Regions from separate parts of the Homo sapiens genome. Here all the other regions are linked to region 4. Evidence: promoter capture Hi-C in 16 types of primary human blood cells and fetal thymus (Javierre and others, 2016). All regions are on one chromosome and are shown on one strand. Each heading gives the region's core, a stretch centred on a gene start or on the middle of the fragment in contact. The rest is flanking DNA. Distances are from core to core; before and after follow the strand shown. Region 1 has its middle 2.6 kb from the start of SIGLEC6. Region 2 has its middle 19 kb from the start of ZNF175. Region 3 overlaps ETFB (electron transfer flavoprotein subunit beta). Region 4 holds the start of SIGLEC8 (sialic acid binding Ig like lectin 8).

Evidence for each region. The method cuts DNA at HindIII sites, captures the fragments that hold promoters and counts their contacts. A CHiCAGO score of 5 or more calls a contact.
Region 1: a contact is called between a fragment that was not itself captured here and the fragment with the promoter of SIGLEC8 in region 4, in 1 of 17 cell types (monocytes). The highest score is 5.7, in monocytes.
Region 2: a contact is called between a fragment that was not itself captured here and the fragment with the promoter of SIGLEC8 in region 4, in 2 of 17 cell types (megakaryocytes and monocytes). The highest score is 6.8, in megakaryocytes.
Region 3: a contact is called between a fragment that was not itself captured here and the fragment with the promoter of SIGLEC8 in region 4, in 1 of 17 cell types (total B cells). The highest score is 5.4, in total B cells.

What each region holds. Positions count from the first base shown.
Region 1 is chr19:51,532,934-51,535,633 of GRCh38, reverse strand. No RefSeq gene overlaps it. Among named protein-coding and RNA genes, the nearest start is that of SIGLEC6, 2.6 kb to the right of the region's middle. The HindIII fragment of the contact is 1,070 bases long and covers 733-1,802 here.
Region 2 is chr19:51,550,570-51,553,369 of GRCh38, reverse strand. No RefSeq gene overlaps it. Among named protein-coding and RNA genes, the nearest start is that of ZNF175, 19 kb to the left of the region's middle. The HindIII fragment of the contact is 3,960 bases long and covers 1-2,800 here.
Region 3 is chr19:51,345,833-51,348,650 of GRCh38, reverse strand. It overlaps ETFB (electron transfer flavoprotein subunit beta), which reads left to right. Exons shown (of 6, transcript NM_001985.3): 5 at 1,593-1,751. Among named protein-coding and RNA genes, the nearest start is that of VSIG10L, 5.1 kb to the right of the region's middle. The HindIII fragment of the contact is 7,447 bases long and covers 1-2,818 here.
Region 4 is chr19:51,457,060-51,460,106 of GRCh38, reverse strand. It overlaps SIGLEC8 (sialic acid binding Ig like lectin 8), which reads left to right and starts at 1,653. Exons shown (of 7, transcript NM_014442.3): 1 at 1,653-2,173; 2 at 2,368-2,646; 3 at 2,876-2,923. The coding sequence starts at 1,720. The HindIII fragment of the contact is 20,005 bases long and covers 1-3,047 here.

The DNA.
Region 1 (2,700 bases), core at 18-2,517, 76 kb before region 4:
TATTCTTCATAAATAAAAGAGAAATAGATTCATCCCAAGACAAACAAATGCTGATGAAATTTATTACCACTAGACCAGCCTTGGAAAAAATACTCAAAGGAGTCCTAAACCTGGAAGCAAAAGGATGATTTTATCATCACGAAAACATATGAAAGTAAAAAATTCACTGGTAAAGCAATCATGCAAATGAGAACTAGAAAGGACTCAAATGGTACCACTACAGAAATCCACCAAATCACAAGGACAAACAATAAGATAAAAGGAAAGAAACAACGAATGTTTAAAACAAGAAAATGTTTAATAACCTGACAGAAAGAAAGCCTCACAAATCAATAATAACCATGTATGTAAATGGATTAAAGTATCCTCTTAAAAGATATAGAATGGCTGAATGGATTTTAAAAATGACTCAACAGTGTGCAGCTTAAAGAAACACACCTTAAGAAAAGACACATATAGACCAAAAGTAAAAGGATGGAGAAAGATATTCCACACAAATGGAAACCAATAGTAAGCAGCAGTAACTATACTTAGATAAAACAGACCTTAGGTCAAGAGCAGTAGAAAAAGACAAAGAAGGTCATTATATAATGATGAAGGGATCAACCCAGCAAGAGGATATAACAATTCTAAATATATATGCACCCAGCAATGGAGCAGCCATATCTATAAAGCAAATATTACTAGATCTAAAGAGAGAGATAGAATGCAATACAATAATGGTGGGAAGCTTCACCACCCTATTCTCAGTAAGACAGATCACTTAGACAGAAAATCAACAAACAAACATCACATTTAAACTACACTATAGACCAAATGGAACTAACAGACTTTTACAGAACTTCTACCCAACAACTGCAGAATACATATTCTTTTCATCAGTACATGAAACATTCTCCAGGATACACCATATATTCGGCTACGAAATAAGTCTCTATAAATTAAAAAAAAAATCAATATTTACTCAATGTATACTCAGACCACAATGGAACAAAACAACAAGTCAGCACCAAGAGGAACTCTGGAAACAAGACAAATGTATGGAAATTAAACAATATGCTCTTAATGACCTACCAGGTGAAAATCTATACAGGAAAAACTAAAAAACACTGATGAAAGAAATTGAAGATGACACAAACAAATGGAAAAACATCCCATACTCATGACTGGAAGAATTAAGATAGTTAAGAAGCCCACACTGGTCTATAGCAATCTAAAGATTTAATGTAATCCATATGAAAATACCAATGTCAGTCTTCACAGAATTGTAAAAAACAATTATAAAATTCATATGGATCCAAAAAGAACCTGAATAGCCAAAGCTATCCGGAGAAAAAAGAACAAAGCTGGTGGTATCACTTTACCTGACTTCAAAGTATATTACAAGGCTATAATAACCAAAACAGCATGATATTGGTATAGAAATAGATACATAGACCAATGGAATATAACCCAGAAATAAGGCCACATGTATACAGCCAATTGATTGTCAACAAAACTGACAAGAACTTATATTGAGGAAAGGACACCTTCTTCAATAAATGGTGCTGGGAAAATTGTATACCCACACACAAAAGAATGAAACTGGATTCTTCTCTCTCACCATATTAAAAAAAAACTCAAAATGAATCATACACTTAAATGTAAGACCCAAAACTATAAAAAAAAAAAACAGCTACAAGAAAACCTAGGGAAAACTCTTTTGAACATTGGTCAGAAGAGTCAGAAATTATGACTAAGTTCTGAAAAGCACAGGCAACAAAAACAAAAATAAACAAATGGGACTTAATAAACAAAAAGCTTCTGCCAGGAAAAGAAATAATTAGAGTGAAGAAACAACCTGTTGAATTGGAGAAAATATTCGCAAACTATTCTTCTGACAGGAGACTAATATCCAGACTATACAAGGAACTCAAACAACTCAACAGGAAAAAGCAAATAATCCAAGTAAAAAGTGGGCAAAGGACAGGAATAGACAGTTCTCAAAGAATACATAAGAACAGCCAATACGACAAAATGGTCAGCGTCACTAATCATCAGAGAAGTGCACATCTAAACCAAAATGAGATACCGTCTTACCCAGTCAGAATGACTATTACTAAAAAAACAAAAAATAACAGATTTTGGCAAGGATGAGGAGAAAGATAACTCTTCTGTACTGTTGGTGGGAATTTAAACTAGTACAGCCACTTTTGAAAACACTATGGACATTTCTCAGGAACTAAAAATAGAATTACTATTCGATCACTCAAGCAATCCCACTACTGGGTATCTACCCGAAGGGAAAGAAAGAAATACATCAAAGAGATACCTGCATTCACATGATTTTTGCTGCACTATTCACAATATCAGAGATATGGAACCAACCTAAGTGTCAATTAACAGATGAATGGATAAAGAAAATATAGTATACATGCTATTTGGCCATAAAAAAGAATGAAATCGTGTCATTTGCAGCAACATGGATGGGACTAGAATTCATTATCTAAATTGAAATAAGTCAGACACAAAAAGACAAATGTTGCATGTTCTCACTTACATGTGGGAGCTAAAAAAATATTATCACATGGAGGTGGACAGTAGAAAGATAGACAACAGAGACTGGAAAGGGTCAGATGGGGGAGGACAGAAGATGAAGAGAAGTGAGTGAAGTGCTACAAACATACAGTTAAAAGGAATAAATTCAGCGTTAGAGAGCAG
Region 2 (2,800 bases), core at 89-2,588, 94 kb before region 4:
CGCCACTCTCCCTGATGCCTGTGGCTCGCCAGGACCAAAACGTGTCTGGATGTGCAGCGAGAGCCACCAGCCTCTTTGCGCGGTCCCTGATGGTAGACATGGGAGAGAACGGCGCAGGATAGGAAAACCTCCCAGTCTGTGTCTGCCCTTCTCGGGCTCTCGGTCACGCCCAGGAGATGGGCCCTTAGATCACTCAGAGAGGGAATCTGCACATATCCCTGGTTTCTTGCCTCTTAGGACAGACTCCACCCCCGGGGCCTTCAGGAATCCCTGTCTAATTGTGATAAACTCCCTTCGCCTCCCCCTCTCCCTCCTCCTCCTTCTCCTCCCCCTCCTCTTCCTCCCCTCCCCCTCCTCCTCCTCCTTCTCCTCCCCCCCTCCTCTTCCTCCTGCTCATCTTTCTCTGTCTCTCTCCCTCTCTCCTACCCCTTTCTCTCTCTCTTCCCTGCTTCTTCGTCTATCTCAGTCTATGTCTCTTTTCACCTTCTTCCCCTTTCCCCTCTTCTGTCTTTCTCTCCCTGTCTCCCTTTTTCCTGCCTCTCTACCTTTCTTTCTGTCTCAGTCTGTTTCTAGTCTCTTTCTTTCCCCCTTTGCCTTGTCTGAGGGCAAAGGGAATGTTCCTGTTGAAGGAAAACTTTCTCTCTCTCTCTCTCTCTGTCTGTCTGTCTCTCTCTTTCTCTATCTCTTTCCCCTCTCCCTCTCTTCCTCTTCTCTCTTTTTCTCTCTCCCTCTCTCTCTCTCTGTCTCAATCTGTGTCTCTTCCCCTCTCCCTCTTCTTCCCTACTCCTCTCACCTCTGTACCACCTCCGACTGGTACTCGTACCCAATTGGAGCTCTGGAGGACAAAGAACAAGACTCATGGTCCTTTTCAGTCTTTAGCTTTGTGCCCAATCCTAAAAGATTACATATATATATATATGTCATATATCATATATATAATATATATATTATGTATATATGCTTCAGGATCTGTAGGCTAAATGGAGGAACAGAATATCAGGCAGCTGATGGAAGCATGGTCTTTGGAAGTGATGGAAGACATTCAAAGTGTTTAGGCACACAAGGGATCTTACTTAGATTGAAAAAAGAGTCCCGTGAGCTCAGAGATGGGGAGCTGTCCATGGGAGACCTAGCAGGCTATTCATTTCAAGAGAGAGAGAGGCCAGGAGAGGAATATTTGCTGGTCACTCCACAGAGGGGAGGAGTTGTAGAGGCTGGAAAACTGTGGAAAAGTCAAAGTGAAGAGACTGTGTATGTATATGTGCAGGCAGGGCCCACAGGAAGTGAGAGTAGGAGGAGAGACACAGGACAAGTTCTTTCTGCCTCACCCTGAACCCAAAGAGCTCACCTAAGTCTGGAGCCAGAGCTGGAGCCACGGCTGGAGCTGAGGACAGAGAGGGTTCCATTTTAGGAGAGTCTCAGTCTCACTCTCCTATGACCCTATGCAAGGGGCTCCAAGAAAAGCAACTGGGGAAAACAGACCCAGAAACTCCACATCTCTCTTGAGGGAAGTGGGGGTTGGTCTTCAGGTGGTGAGGAAGAGGAGGAAGGAAGGTCCCACCCTGCTGTGGTCAGGGGAGAGGAGAGCTCAGCTTTCATTTCCCCTGTAGTGGTCTGAGGGCAAAAGTAGCGTTTGCTGAAGGCAGAAATTTGGGAGAGGAACAATACATTCAATCCAGGAAGAGAATCTATCACTCCAAGGTTGTGCCCACTTCCAAGTGGGAGAGGCTAATCAGTGAAGACAGCCTAGTTCTCTCACTGTTTGGGGTGCTACTTGTAGACTGCCCAATCCTGTCACTGTTCGGGGCACCGCTTGTAAACTGCACGGACCTTGGGGGACTGAACAAAGGGGGACGAACGCGGGAACAAAGACAAGAGAACAAAAGAATGTGTTTGGAAGAAGGGGTCAGGGGGCACCTTGCCTCTAGTGGACAAGGGCCCTGAACTTTACACAGCCCTCCATATTTATTAGGCAAAAGAGATAGCGAGAAGGAGGGGTGGAAGAAGAGGTCAGCTGCTCCATCTAGAGTAGGCTTGCAAGACTGTATTCCTTGAACAGTAGGCCCTAGATGTCCCAGAAGATAACTTCAAGGAGCCGGCGCCAGGGAGTGACCGCCCTCAGCAAACCTTCTGGCGGCAGGTGCAGTCGTGAGTTTGCTCACATCCTGTATTCATGATAAACAGTTTGCTGTTTGATCATATAGCCTCCAGTGGAATGCTGAGTTGGTCACGATCTCTTTGGCCTTTTCGGCTCCCAACAAATCAGATGGTGTCAGCGGAATGTAGAACATCCTTTTCCGCTGCTGCCATTGCCCCAGCTGTGAGGGCAGCAGAGGCCTGAGGAAGAGGTTGCTCAGTCGGGCTGCAGCCACAGCTTGCTTCCCGGCAGCAGTCCCATGAGAATCAGCCGGCTGTGCTCTCACCTTTCAGTCAGTGACGGTGAAGAGGGAACCTTTGCATTCTGTGCCCAGCTTCATTCTCCAGTCCAATCCATGGGTTTTCTGGACTGACTTTAATCCAGTCCACACCCACCTTTGGATCCCAGAGGGGGCCCACAGACACCATAATCCCCCTGTGGCCACAAATAAGCCCTGTCAAAACTTGGAAGAAGGCTGGGCGCAGTGGCTCATGCCTGTAATCCTAGCACTTTGGGAGGCCGAGGTGGGTGGATCACCTGAGGTCAGCAGTTCTAGACCAGCCTGGCCAACATGGTGAAACTCCATCTCTACTAAAAATACAAAAATTAGCCAGGTGTAGAGGCAGGTGCCTGTAATCCCAGCTACTAGGGAGGCCAAGGCAG
Region 3 (2,818 bases), core at 198-2,697, 110 kb after region 4:
GCACATATCTAAGTTGCACAATTTGTTAAGTTTGCTTTTCTTAAACTCTTTTATTTAGATAGAGATGGGGGTCTCACTATGTTGCCCAAGCTGGTCTTTAACTCCTGGGCTCAAGCAAGCTGCTCACCTCAGCCCTCCAAAATTTAAGTTTTGATATGTGTTACATCCATGAAATCATCACCACAATCATGATAATGTGTCTTGAATTCTCAGTATTTATTTATTTTTATTTTTTTGAGGTGGAGTCTTGTTCTGTCCCCAGACTGGAGTGCAGTGGCGCGATCTTGGCTCACTGCAGCCTCCGCCTCCCGAATTTAAGCGATTCTCCTGCCTCAGCCTCCCGAGTAGATCGGATTACAAGCGTGCATCACCATACCTGGATAATTTTTGTATTTTTAGTAGAGACAGGGTTTCGCCATGTTGGCCAGGCTGGTCTTGAACTCCTGACCTCAAGTGATCCACCCGCCTTGGCCCCTCAAAGTGCTGGGATTACAGGCATGAACCACTGCGCCTGGCCAAATTATCAGTATTTAAATTTAAATAAAATGTAAAAATTCATTCCTCAGCTGCACTGGCTGGACAGCCACACGCAGCCAGTGGCTACTGGATGGGACAACACATTCAAAACCATTATCCTGTTTTATCTTCAAAGCATTTACCACTGTCTGACTAGCTTCTCCAACGTGCGCCCTTCTTGCTCTCATATCATGTGTCTTATTTTCTTCTTATTCCTTCTGATTGGAAATGATCTCATTTGTGTGTGTGTGTTTTTCCCTGGTGACTGGTTGTCTTCCCTGGCAGAATATGAGCCCACCCAAGCTGGTGCTTCACTGGTCGTGTTCACAGTGTGTCTCCAGGGGCAGGTTCATAAGGGCACTAGGAGGAGGTTGTGAATGAAGGGAGGTGATGTTCACACTAAGACCTGAAAAATGTGTCCAGTTAATAAGTGGACAGGGACAAAGGTCGTTAGACAAAGAGGAGTGTAGGTGGCATCAGTTACCAGGGGAGGAAATGTTGATTCAGGACTGAGAGGCAAAGGGACCTGGCTAGAGGACGGGGTCCCAGAAGGTGGTTTAAGGACTGGTGTGGACACACACAGTTCTGTTGTCTGCCCAGCGGAGGGGCCTCACGGGGGGCCGTTGGGAGCCAGATTGTCAGCTTTTGGATTTACCAGCTGTGGGTGGCAGTGGGCGTGTAACTCAGCATCTTGCTGCCTCAGTTTCTCTCATCTGTAAAGTGGGGATAATAACATTTACCTCATAAAGTTCCTGCGAGGATTCGATGACTTGATACATCAGTTGCTTAGCACAGGGCTCAGCACTCAGTACATGTTCCCTGTCAGGAAGGCAGGGAGGCCTCACTGGCAGCATCAGGACATGGGACATCAGGACATACACCGTGGCTCTCAGGGAAAGGAAAAAGACCCTCTCCCAGGTGTACAAGCTCGATTCTAAACCTCATGGGACCCTGCATTGTTCGCTCCCTCATTCATTCACTAGTCCATGCGTGTACTCAGTAGTGGCATAAGCAGACTGCTCGGGTCGGACCTGAATTAGCCTCACCCACTCTCCTCCTACACTGTCCCTCCCCAGGGCACATTCGCCTCCCAGGTGACGCTGGAGGGGGACAAGTTGAAAGTGGAGCGGGAGATCGATGGGGGCCTGGAGACCCTGCGCCTGAAGCTGCCAGCTGTGGTGACAGCTGACCTGAGGCTCAACGAGCCCCGCTACGCCACGCTGCCCAACATCATGGTGAGCCCCTGGCCAGCGGGCACTGAGGGCCTGGGGGTGGCAAGCACATTGCCAGCCCAGTGCCCCCCGGTGGTCGCACGTGGGGAGGGAAGGATCCAAAGGAGGTCTCGTGCACAGGAAGCCGTCACCTGGAGTTTGGCTGATAGAGAGAGTTTGCTGGGTCATCTCTGCCAATACTGAGAGTTCATGGGGGCTGCTTTGGCTAGCAGGGAGGGCTTGCTGGTATCTAGGCCAGTAGAAAGCCTTCGCTGGGCAGCAGAAGGTGTTCCCTTTGTCATTCCAGCCAGTGGAACAAGTTCACTGGGTCATCTAGGTTCATTAGGGAGGGTCCCCTTGGTAATTTTTGCCAATGTGAAGTTACCATGTAGATCATCTTAGTTAACTAGGAAGGGTGCATGGGGTCTCTTGGCTAACAGGTAGAGTTCACTAATCATCATGGCCAGTAGATGGGTTCGCTGGGTCATCTTGGCCAATATTAACAGTTTAGTGGGTCATCTCCGCCAATAGAGAATATTCATCTCAGCCAACAGGGAGGGTTCACTGGATCATCTCAACTAATGGGGAGGGTTCAATGAGTCATTTCAGCCATTACAGAGTGTTCACTACATCATCTCAGCCTATAGGGAGGGTTCAGCGCATCATCTCAGCCTATAGGGAGGGTTCAGCGCATCATCTCAACCTATAGGGAGGGTTCTGCGCATCATCTCAGTCTATAGGGAGGGTTCAGCACATCATCTCAGTCTATAGGGAGGGTTCAGCGCATCATCTCAACCTATAGGGAGGGTTCTGCGCATCATCTCAGCCTATAGGGAGGGTTCAGCGCATCATCTCAGTCTATAGGCAGGGTTCAGCGCATCATCTCAGCCTATAGGGAGGGTTCAGCGCATCATCTCAGCCTATAGGGAGGGTTCAGCGCATCATCTCAGCCTATAGGGAGGGTTCTGCGCATCATCTCAGTCTATAGGGAGGGTTCAGCGCATCATCTCAGCCTATAGGGAGGGTTCAGCGCATCATCTCAGCCTATAGGGAGGGTTCAGCGCATCATCTCAGCCTATAGGGAGGGTTCA
Region 4 (3,047 bases), core at 404-2,903:
GGGAGTGGGGTGTGGCCAATAAGAAGGAGAAACAAATGAGCAGCGCTGGGGACTTTGTCAATGTGCCATTTCTAGGAGGGGGCTCGTTGTATGTAAATCACTGAGGTCTTCTTTGGGGGTTGTTTTTATCTATATTTCTTATATTTACCCCCCAAAAAATGTTTCAAGAAAATTGACCTGAGTCTAAGGAGGCTCCGCCTCCCAGGATCCCCCTTAACTTCTTCCCAGCCCCCAGCCACACAGTTTAAAATAATCTGTTGAGGCCAGGCACGGTGGCTCACACCTGTAATCCCAGCACTTTGGGAGGCTGAGGTGGGTGGATCATGAGGTCAGGAGATCCAGACCATCCTGGTCGACATGGTGAAACCCCGGCTCTACTAAAAATACAAAAATTAGCTGGATGTGGTGGCGTATGCCTGTAATCCTAGCTACTTGGGAGGCTGAGGCAGGAGAATCGCTTGAACCAGGGAGTCAGAGGTTGCAGTGAGCCGGGATCGCGCCACTGCACTCCAGCCTGGCGACAGAGAGAGACTCCGTCTCAAATAATAATAATAATAATAATAATAATAATCATCATCATCATCATCATCATCATCATCATCTGTTGAATTCAGGTGCACATTTCTTCTCTCAAGAAATCCTGCCCATCGCTGAAGGTGCACACCCCAGGGCTGGTGTCCTCGTTCCATGACACCTGTTCACCTGGACCCCTGGAAGCAGAGCCTGCAGGAGCAAAGCCCCAGGGCTGACAGACCCCGCCTGCTGTGCAGTAACCAGGGGAAGTGTGGCTGAGTAAGATACGGGTGGTGAAGAAACCCATTCTGATACCCAGATAGCTGCAACAAAGGGAGAAGTGTGTGCCCTTTTCAAATTGACCCTTTCCCTTCTGACATTTCTCCCTTCCAAACCCCACAGTACAACAGTTACAGCCTCAGTTTCCCAGGCCTCCTGCGAGCCAGGCTTCCCCCCGCCCCCCGTCCTTCGTGTGTATCAACATGCAGAATCCTCACCTCCACAGCCCCGTGTCCCTCTGCTCAGGCCTCCTGAGACTGAACCCCTGACCTAGGGGAGAACGACCCCACCTTGCCTGTGCCCCCCACTGAAGCTCCCGTCCTGGGGAGCTCAGACGTCAGGAGCCTCCGTGTCTCCCCTCTGCACAGTGACTCCTTGAGGACAGTGTCTGGCTCTGCTCTGTTGACCTCGTTGTGTAAAGAGGAGGTGCCCACTTCGTTGCTGCTGAGAGAGGGAGGAGAGGCTGCCTGCTCACCTCACCTGCACCCCAGTCTCTCATGGCCCTGAGTTCCACCTTTGGCTGGTATGACCTCCACAAACAGTGACAGCCCCGGGGGTGATTCAGGGGTCTGGCCAGATGGGACCCAATTTCACCTTGCAGAAAATGTTACCCAAATGGAAGGGCAAGTCCGGGAAGCAAGAAAGAGGTTGGGCCCTGCATAGGGTGGGAATCTGGATGAGTTTCTCACCCTCTCTGGCCTCAGGGTTCCCAGGAGTGGAAATGGGGTGGTGGACAGTGGATCTCCCAGGACTGACCCGGCCCTGACAGTGTCTGTGTGTGAAGTTCCTCCTCTGAGGAGGTCACTTTTCTGACTTCACCCCCAACCTCCTGCGGGACCTCCCCTAAGTCTTGAGACCTCAGTTTCTGAGAGAAGAACCCTGAGGAACAGACGTTCCCTGGCGGCCCTGGCGCCTTCAAACCCAGACATGCTGCTGCTGCTGCTGCTGCTGCCCCTGCTCTGGGGGACAAAGGGGATGGAGGGAGACAGACAATATGGGGATGGTTACTTGCTGCAAGTGCAGGAGCTGGTGACGGTGCAGGAGGGCCTGTGTGTCCATGTGCCCTGCTCCTTCTCCTACCCCCAGGATGGCTGGACTGACTCTGACCCAGTTCATGGCTACTGGTTCCGGGCAGGAGACAGACCATACCAAGACGCTCCAGTGGCCACAAACAACCCAGACAGAGAAGTGCAGGCAGAGACCCAGGGCCGATTCCAACTCCTTGGGGACATTTGGAGCAACGACTGCTCCCTGAGCATCAGAGACGCCAGGAAGAGGGATAAGGGGTCATATTTCTTTCGGCTAGAGAGAGGAAGCATGAAATGGAGTTACAAATCACAGTTGAATTACAAAACTAAGCAGCTGTCTGTGTTTGTGACAGGTAAGGCACGGGCTCCAGCACAGGCCACAGGGGAAGGTCATGAGGGGCTGAAAGGCAGGGCTGGGATGGGGCCTGGGAGGGGGTTGGGATTGAAATAAGTCGGTCTCCGGGGAGGAGCTGGACCAGAGCTTGAGCTTCCTCCAGGGCTGCACCTGAAATACCTCCTCCTGATCCTGTGTCCCCATCTTCACCAGCCCTGACCCATAGGCCTGACATCCTCATCCTAGGGACCCTAGAGTCTGGCCACTCCAGGAACCTGACCTGCTCTGTGCCCTGGGCCTGTAAGCAGGGGACACCCCCCATGATCTCCTGGATTGGGGCCTCCGTGTCCTCCCCGGGCCCCACTACTGCCCGCTCCTCAGTGCTCACCCTTACCCCAAAGCCCCAGGACCACGGCACCAGCCTCACCTGTCAGGTGACCTTGCCTGGGACAGGTGTGACCACGACCAGTACCGTCCGCCTCGATGTGTCCTGTGAGTGCTGGACCAAGATGCCCAGGTCCCTCATGGGTTGGGAGGTGTTCCTGAGGGCAGGGGATGGGGTTCAAGCCTGGACACTGGGTTCTGGGTCCCAGAATCTGGGCTGGGAGTGGGGTCAGGAGAATGCCGACTCCATTTTCCCTGTATTTGCAGCTCCTGGGAAGACAGGGCCAATGTCCCCAGTCCTTATAGTAATGTGGGTCTTCATGTCTTTCTGTCCCAGACCCTCCTTGGAACTTGACCATGACTGTCTTCCAAGGAGATGCCACAGGTAGGACAGAGCCCCCTCCCTGGGGTTGGGGGAGCAGGGCCTTCAGCTCAGGATGGGGCTGGGTCTCTCCTCATCCTGGAATCACTTTGGGAAACAGAGCTGCCACTGTGCGTGAGCCCAGGGC